Linked DNA regions of Homo sapiens: region 1 is linked to region 2. The links are contacts of gene promoters, found by promoter capture Hi-C in human tissues and cell types (Jung and others, 2019). All regions are on one chromosome and are shown on one strand. The core of a region is centred on a gene start or on the middle of the fragment in contact, and the rest is flanking DNA. Distances in the headings are between cores, read along the strand shown. Region 1 has its middle 60 kb from the start of NEK3. Region 2 holds the start of NEK3 (NIMA related kinase 3).

Region 1 (4,783 bases), core at 457-2,956, 59 kb after region 2:
AAAACTACCTTAAACTTCATATGGAACCAAAAAAGAGCCCACATAGACAAGACAATCCTGGGCAAGAAGTACAAAGCTGGAGGCATCATGCTACCAGACTTCAAACTATACTACAAAGCTACAGCAAACAAAACAGCATGGTACTGGTACCAAAACAGATATATAGACCAATGGAGCAGAACAGGGGCCTCAGAAATAACACCACACATCTACAACCATCTGATCTTTGACAAACCTGACACAAACAAGCAATGGGGAGAAGATTCCCTATTTAATAAATGGTGTTGGGAAAACTGGCTAGCCATATACAATTCTTAAACATTTTTTGTAAGCCTTCTTTTGCATTTTGATAAAGCTTTAAGGGCTCCTTTCAGGTCCAGGGGGAGATGGTAAACACTAACCACTGGCAGTTATCATGACACTAACCCTAGTGTAGGTTCTGGGGATGTTGTAGGGTGGTTTCAGTTCAATCTTTTTCTTCTGTTTAGAATTTGTATTGAAATGATTTCACCTGGCTGGGCATGGTGGTTCACACCTGCAATCCCAGCACTTTGGGAGGCCAAGGCAAGTGGATCACCTGTGGTCAGGAGTTTGAGATTAGCATGGCCAACATGGTGAAACCCCATCTCTACTAAAAATACAAAAATTAGCTTGGCGTGGTGGCAGGCACCTATAATCCCAGCTACTTGGGAAGCTGAGGCAAAAGAATCACCTATACCTGGGAGACGGAGGTTGCAGTGAGCCAAGATTACAACACTGCACTCCAGCCTAGGCGACAGAGACTCTGTTTAAAAAAAAAAAAAGAAAAAGAAAGGTGGGTTCCCTTGCATTTTCTCAGACATTTCTGATCCTTCACCTCCTCAAATCTGGTTCAGACAACCTCTTCCACTACTCTGCATTTTGCTAATGGTATAAAAGTGGCCAGACATGGTGGCACATGCCTGTAATTCCAACACTTTGGGAGGCCGAGACGGGTGGATCACTGGAGGTCAGGAGTTCAAGACCAGCCTGGCCAACATGGTGAAACCCCATCTCTACTAAAAATACAAAAATTAGCCAAGCATGGTGGCATGCACGTATAGTCCCAGCTACTGGGGAGGCTGAGGTGAGAGAATCACCTGAGCCCAGGAGGTTGAGGCTGCAGTGAGCCAAGATCCTACTACTGCACTCCAGTCTTGGCAACCAGAGTGAGACCACGTCTCAAAAAGTACAAAATAAAAATAAAAAATTTTGTTTAATTAGCCAGGTGTGGTGGCACGCACCTGTAATCCCAGCTACTCAGGAGACTGAGGTAGGAGAATCACTTGAACCTAGGAGGTAGAGGTTGCAGTGAGCCGAGATCGTGCCACTGCACTCCAGCCTGGGTGACAGAGTGAGACTGTCTCAAAAAAAAAAAGAAAGTGTTTAATAAAAAAGTAGCATCCAGCACCAATGAGGAAATAATAATGATTCCCTGTGGACACAGGGCTAAACACTGTTTACACTGAAAAGATTACCTCCCTTCAGAGTTCCCCCAGGGCTTAGGTGACATTGGTTGTGAGCAGGAGTAGTGGATTTCAAAATAATACACCTAAATTACTCTAAGAACAAATATTTCTTTTGACTTCACTTACAATTTTATACAAAAGCAGAAGTTACTGAAGGTTACTTCTCCTTCATATTTACTACGCCCTTCTTACCCCAACCCCCATGTCTGTGTGTAATTAAAGGAAGCTTGTTAAGTAAGCTACCCATTTAGTGCTTGGAACAAGAGAAAAGTGTGTGTTGGGAGTTGGGGGACTGCTTGTGTGAAATATTTCTCTCTTCTGGGTTTAAAACTTAGTCTTTGCTGCCAATCTGTTAACAGTTTGTAAATCGAGTAGAAGGAAAAATATAAATTAGCTTTCTAATAAACCTGAAATTACAAATGTGAAAAAAAGCAGGGAATAAATACCTGACCAAAAATGTATAAGTAAGTGGGTGTTGGGGGATCACAATTTTTAATTATCTCTCAATTATTTTGATACGAAAGTTCTATTTCAAAGTTCTTCAAAATGACGCCTAATGTTCCTAAGTACTGTGTTCCAAATGTATGTAAATACAAGATGGAAACTGTGAAATATATGCCTTCAAAAAGAAAAAAAACCTGACATTTTATCTGTATATATTTAATAGATTTATAAAGAACATGTGTATACATATATCAATATAGATGTACCAGCAAGGAAGATTTAGAACATATAACTATGTGGCAGGGTTAGAAAGAACATAATTCTTTCCCAGAAGGGGTGCAGGGAACTATACTTAATCAGCTACCAGTTACAACATAACTTAAGTCATTTCTCATTAAAATATATCTCTACTGCATATTCTGGTTGATAAATTTTCCATGTTTTTTGTTTATGAAGATTATCCAATTCATTTCTTTGTAGATAAAGCCTAAGAATAGAAAAAAAAATTGTTACATTTTATTTTGGGGCTAACTGAAAAGCCATGTAGTAGGCACCCTTGTTAGAGCTTGAAGAAACAAACAAAAAAAAGACTTGCTCACCATGAATAGAACCTCAGCCCCTTTTTGTGTCTCAGTTGGCTCCTTCTACCTTTTCGGTGAGACTTAAAAATATCTTAATCTTCAGCAACACATCAGTAACACATGCTACTGATTCTTTTAACGTTGCTTTTTATGGAATTAATGACATCTAGGTTTAATACAGTATCTAAATTTCTATATGTGACAGAAATCAGTCTGATTAGACATGTATCAAAACCCAATAATAAAATACTATATCTCTTTTAATTTATGCCTGAGGTTGCAATTTTTTGAATTTTTGCAATCAGCCCTTGGCGATGACCTTGAGCAGTAGGATATAAATAAATCCCACATGCTTAGCATTCCAATAATGGAACACTAGGCATAAATTGGTTAACCCATTTATGCCTAGTGTTCTAAAAGACAGAAGTTGGCATTTTTGGCTAAACAACAATTTCACAACTAAGAAAAACAGCTTTACCAATAGTATATAAATTTAAATATTACAGAAATCTTTAGAAATTTATATAAAAGTGAAAATAAAGGTGATCTAACTTATTGCTTCCCCAAAATGAACATGGTGTTTCAAAGGAAAAATCTGTATCCTTTACCAAGAATCAATTTGAGGAGCAGCAACAAATGAAGCTCCACCCAGCTCTCACAATTGAGGGACTTTGCTCATGTTAGGAGTCAAAGCTTATTGTTTGTATGCATCCAAGAAACAAATTTTTAAAAAATTTCCATCCAATCCAAAGTTCACTCTATCAAAATCTATTAAATGTGTATGTATTGCAAGTGTGTAGACCAGAGGTTTAATTTACTGTTGCCTTGCTGGACTTAAGGAGTTATTAGATCCAGCTCAGATTTGAAGAAAAGACTAGAACTGGTTGTAACAATAACTACCAATTCATGCCACATGCAATCATAGCAACTGCCTCAACTGTGACCTGAAGCATTTTAAAAATATTTTCTCTTTTTGTATTGAAGAGTATGGTTAATACAAAAAAATCTCAGTTTTTCACCAGCACAGAACAAATGCTACTTAAAGTGGAGAACTTCTAGACTGAGAAATAAGTTTCCAAATATGGCAGAAGGTTTTCTGGGAACAATAATCTCCAAATCCAAGTAATAGTTGTTCTGTTTTTTTGCTTTTTTCTTTAGACAGAGTCTCACTCTGTCGCCCAGGCTGGAGTGTAGTGGTGCGATCTCGGCTCACTGCAATCTGCCTCCTGGGTTCAAGCGATTCTACTGGCTCAGCCTCCTGAGTAGCTGGGATTACAGGCATGTGCCACCACGCCTGGCTGATTTTTGTATTTTTAGTAGAGACGGAGTTTTACCATGTTGGCCAGGCTAGTCTCGAACTTCCAACCTTAGGTGATCCGCCCGCCTCAGCCTCCCAAAGTGCTAGGATTACAGGCATGAGCCACCACACCCAGCCTCCAATTAATAGTTTTTAAGAAAGTTTTCCCAATTCAGTTATTAGAAACCCATGTTTAAATGGGAGACTACCAATTTTAATGATTTTTTAGCTGTATTTCTTAATACTTACTGTGTCTTGTAACTTCTCCTAGATATAAGTGTGTCAGTCAGCTTTTCAGCTAGCTGAAGCTTCCCTAGGTCCTCCCTTACTTTAGCACAAAATTTGGTGGTGGTTCGTCATTGGTAAATCAGCACCTACTGAGGACCTGACATGTTGAAGGTACTGAGCAGATTCATATTGAACTTCTCTGGGAGGAATTTACTTCCACACTTAAGATCTGATTATAATACTTTTGAGCTCATAACACAGTCCTATGGCATGGACCTTGAGGATACTGCAACTGGGGGTCTCAAGAACAACTGTATTTTTAAAATAGCCAACGTAAAAGGAGTAAGGCAATGAACAATGGTGGCTCAAGGATTTTTTGTTTTCTATAAATTAAGCTTATGACAACCAGCAAAAGACTTGCCATTACATCTTATACATAGACATTGAAGATTAGGTTGTTTCTATGGGTTGATATTATATCCATACCCGTTATTTTGTATTAAAGATGTGTTAAACCAGAAGAAAAAAGGGTAGTTGTGATAGTATTTAGGAAAATCCTAAAAAGAAAAAAAAATATTTTAAAAGTAAAATTGATGCCAAGAACTAATCATTCCAAAGAAATCAAAGTTCCTTCCTTTATTCCTTTATATATTTATCAAATAATTATAACCATTCAATAGGTAGCACTCTGCATTCTATAATAACACACTCAAGACACAGAGGAGGAGGCTTAAGAAAATGCTATT
Region 2 (4,595 bases), core at 187-2,686:
GCCACCCCGTCCGGCCCTAGTGTTCGTTTTTTAATTACACCACAAAGAATTATAAGGCAGAGAGAGCATGACAGGCAAAGCAAAAATCAAACTAAAACCTCTACTATAGTGACCTGTAAAAATTCCAGTTTGTATTACTGTTTATCACAGAATTACCAGGAAATCCTAGAAATAATTTCTTCATATAACCAAATCAGTCATACACATTGTCTTCGAAACAATGTTTTTCCAAGATCGATGAGGTCTTTTGAGTGTATATAGATGTGAAAGAAACAAGTCCTTTACTACTATTCTAACACCTGGTATTACACGGTTTAACATGGAAGCCAAGTTTCCCCATGATCTTATTCTTCGTTTCTTCGGGGCTTTATTCTATGCAATGGAGAGTAACTGAAAATTAAGAGCAACCAGACTTCTTAGCTGAAAACCACATTTGATATTTTCTGCCCACATTTGCCTGTTACTCAATATTACACCCATATGATCATTACAAGACCTGAATACACTCTGGACATGGCAAAAGTATATCGGCCCCTTCGCATGCCTGCAACAATACTTTTAAAAACCTAATAAAGTGATTTGCAAATACCCAGAAGTGGGATCACCAGTGAGATACGGGCTAAGTTCAGAAAGGTCCCTGAAACCACCTTTACAGATGTATAAGTAATGCGAGAAATCTAACATGACTGACTCCATCTTGCTTCTAACCTCACGGGCTAAGTTTTCACCGTGTTGTCGTTTTCTTATTCTAGCACAGAGGCTAGGATAACTGGGAGAGGGATTTCGTGTAAACTTCAAGACAAGGGAAACTGACCCCACCCCTTCCTGGGAACCAACGAAGCCGCCCCGAGTTTCAGAAGCTCTTGTGATTTCATCCCCAGCCGGTCAACTGTTTCAGTTCCCCAGCCCCCCGAAGCCAAAATGCCCTTTAAAACCCTCGCCCCCGAATTCTCGGGGAGACAGGTCTGAGACCCTGTTCTGGTTTGGCCAGCCCTGCGCTTATTAACTTCTTTTTTTGCTGCAACAGCGGTTCTCACTGGTTCTTTCCGGGCAGCGAGCGAGAAGAATCCGTTGAGCCGGGGCCGGCGCCCGCGGGGCAACTGCACCGCGGGGGAGCCCAGTCGCCCCGCTCACCCGTGAGGGCCCTTTCTCCTGGAAAAGCCGCTCCGCCCTGCTGACCCCCACGGCACCGCGCGCCCAGACCCCAAGGCGGCGAGGGACTTGCGGGTTTGCGGCGAGTGGTCCAGACCGCGGGGCGGAAGTGAGGGGCGCGGCCGCGCGTCCGGGGCGCGTCTACCCCTCGCTCCCACTCGGCTCCGCGCCGCGACCACGCGCCGCCCTCCTCGTTCTAGAGGCAGCCCGCCAGGGCGGGGACCACTCACCCGCTTCCCCGGCGACCCTAGTCCACTCCTTGGCCTGGCAACCGGCGGCTTCCGCGGGGCGGGCCCGGCGGGTCGTCTCTCGGGTTGCGGGTGAAGGAAGCCGCCTGGGTCTGGCGGGAGGCACTGTTCTTGGAGTAGCCGGGCCTACGAAGAGCACGTTTTAAAGCTGTTGTTCCACGTTGCGGTGGAACAGTGCTGTTAACATTGAGGGAAATTGTCCCCGACTAACTGAGTTCTGTCTGCAGGTTAAGTGAAAGCCTATGTAGATAAATTTCACGGGCACAGCACTCAGTGCTAGCTAGAACTTACTAGCTATGTGACCTTGGGCAATTGTGGAAGGCGGGATAATGCTTCCGCCTCAGGATGTCCACATCCTACTCCCTGGAACCTGTGCGTTTGTTCTCTTGCTTGGCAGAGGGGGTTAAGATTGCAGATGGAATTAAGGTTGCTTATCAGCGGACTTTAAAATAAGGTGACGATCTTGGAGTGTGTGCTTGGGTAATTACAAAGTAATTACAAGGGTTCTCTAAAGTGGAAGGGGCCCAAAAAGAAGGTCAGTATGAGAAAGCTATTTGAAGGTGGAGGAAGGGGCAACAGCCAAGGAATGCAGCTGGCCTCAAGAAGCTGGAAGAGGAGCAGGCACAGTGTCTCATGTTTGCAATCCCAGTGCTTTGGAAGGCAGAGGCAGGAGAGGAACACTTTAGCCCAGGAGTTCGAGATCAGCCTGGGCAACATAGTGAGACACTCGTCTCTACGAAAAATTAACTAGACATAGCGACGGGCACTGTGGTCCCAGCTGCTCGGGGGATTGGGGCAGGAGGATCACTAGAGCTGGAGAGGGCTCATGATCCCACCACTGCAGTCCAGCTTTGGTGACAGAGCAAGAACCTGTCTCCAAAAAAAAAAAAAAATATATATATATATATATATATATATATAAAGGAGGAGGTGGGAGGTGGAAAAGGAGGAGAAGCTAGAAAAGGAGGGAAAAACAAAAAACAAAAACCAAATTGTTCCCCAGAGCTTCCAGAAGTAACAGTCCAGCTGACCCCTTGATTTTTTTGTTTTTTGAAACAGGGTCTTGCTATGTTGCCAAGACTGGTTTTGAGCTCCCGGGCTCAAGCGATCCGCCCACCTCAGCCTCCTGAGTGGCTGGGACTACAGGAAAACCACCATGCACACTGACGCCTTGATTTTAACCCAGTGAGCTGTATTTCTGAACTTCAGAACTGTAAGGTAATAAATTCGTGTCGTTTTAGCCACTTAGGTTGTCACAGTTTGTTACAGAAGCCTTAGGAAACTAATACAGCAGAGTAACTAAATCCCTCTGTATAAAAGTATAGAACCTACCTCATAGGATTACTGTGAACAACATCTGGTTACCCTTTACTTGTAAGCGCTGAACGTGTTCATTATAACGTGTCAACCAGAGTCAGAGAGACCGAAATCCAAGTAAAGAAGTTTATTGGCAGTCTGAGAATTGCAGTTCAAGGAACACAGATTCCAGAAGCATTTGAATTGTGTCCTGACCAGCTATTTTTGGGTAGGGTTTTTAAAGGAAGTAAGAAGTCAGTTCTCACTAGTTCATCCATAACCTTCGTAACCCACTATTTTGATTGAAGATAAAGCGTTATCATGACAGTTCATTGGTTTCTAGGCAAAAGTCCTTGATTCAGGGGTTTGAGAAAAGTTCAGTCCTCAGCATGAAGTCCTTTTCATAATGGCAGCAATTTTGTCTGCAACATCAGCAAGTACATTCTGCAGTCAGGCAGTTGTAAAATGGCATTCAGGAACAAAATGGCTTTGCTCTGGCCAGCTCCAATTGCCTTCCTTCCACAATGTCAAAGTTAATGTACAACTATTCTGTAGTGTGGTGATAAGAGAAGGGAAATGCTACAAATCAACATTTACAACATCTGCACTGCTTTCTTTGTACTCTATACAAAGACTAGTTTCAATTAAAAACAAAGAAGGCCAGGCACGATGGCTCAGGCCTGTAATCCCAGCACTTTGGGAGGCCGAGGTAGGCAGATCACCTGAGGTCAGGAGTTCGTGACCAGCCTGGCCTACATGGTGAAACCCTGTCTCTACTAAAAATACAAAAATTAGCTGGGCATGGTGGGTGGCGCCTGTAACCCCAACTACTCGGGAGGCTGAGGCATAAGAATCATTTGAACCTGGGAGGCGGAGGTTGCAGTGAACCAAGATCGTGCCACTGCACTCCAGCCTGGGTGATAGAGCGAAACTCTGTCTAAAAAAAAAAAAAAAAAAATACTGCCCATGCCTGTACTCAGAATGCTGCTCTTGAGAACTGAGCAAAAGACAGATTTCTATCAGATTAAATTTGTGACAGCATCAGGGGAGAAGATGACAAAGGTGCTTAATGCTTTTCTTTCCCACCCAATGATGGCAGTCATGAAAGGGATTCTTTCCCTTGTTCCATCGGTGTATTAGTTTGCCAGGGCTGCTGTAACAGAGTCCCACAAGCTAAATGAATGGTTTAATCAAATTTATTATCTCATACTTCTGGAGGCTAGAGGTCCAAAATAAAGGTGTTGACAGTGTTGGTTTCTTCTGAGGGCTGGAACGAAAAGATCTGTTCCAGGCTTCTGTACTTGACTTGTAGATGGCCTTCTTCTCCCCCACATTGCCTTTCCTTTATGTGTACTGTCTCTGAGTCTAAATTTCCCCTTGTATAAGGACACCAGTCATATCAGATTGAGGGACCATCCTACCCCAGTGTGGCCTCATCTTAACTAATTATATCCTTAACAACCCTATTTCCAAATAAGATCACATTCTGAGGTACTGCACATTAGGACTCCAGCGTATATTTTGTGGGGGATGCAATTCAACCTGTAAGTCAGTAAGAATAGACTGGTGAGGGTAGGGAGAGGGGATGGTGAGAGAAGGTCTGGCCCCCTTTTTATGCAGCTGTTGCCAAGCTGTGGATACCCAGCCAGGAGAGCTTCTGGATATATCCAGAAATAATAAAACGCCACTTCTCCTGAGATGACTGGGAGTTTTCACTCTGTATTAACTGCTTTGTAGTCTACAGTTATATAGACTTTCTTATACTTTTTAACTTCGGTTTGGTTTAAGAGCCACAAGATGACTCACCGAATATATTTCCAGGCATTAAAATAGATGATCTCTGACCCTCACCAGGATTGTTATGTTTGGTTTTTGTTTTGTCAAAGGGGAAAAAAAAAG

What was found. Contacts are between HindIII fragments. The study calls those that stand out against the background at their distance.
Region 1: a fragment that was not itself captured here is called in contact with the fragment with the promoter of NEK3 in region 2 in 1 of the 25 tissues and cell types used here (mesenchymal stem cells).

What each region holds. Positions count from the first base shown.
Region 1 is chr13:52,217,213-52,221,995 of GRCh38, forward strand. It overlaps the pseudogene TPTE2P2. Among named protein-coding and RNA genes, the nearest start is that of NEK3, 60 kb to the left of the region's middle. The HindIII fragment of the contact is 3,910 bases long and covers 1-3,661 here.
Region 2 is chr13:52,158,161-52,162,755 of GRCh38, forward strand. It overlaps NEK3 (NIMA related kinase 3), which reads right to left and starts at 1,437. Exons shown (of 16, transcript NM_002498.3): 1 at 1,383-1,437. RefSeq lists silencers at 1,124-1,233, 1,314-1,373, 3,134-3,428. The HindIII fragment of the contact is 9,103 bases long and covers 1-4,595 here.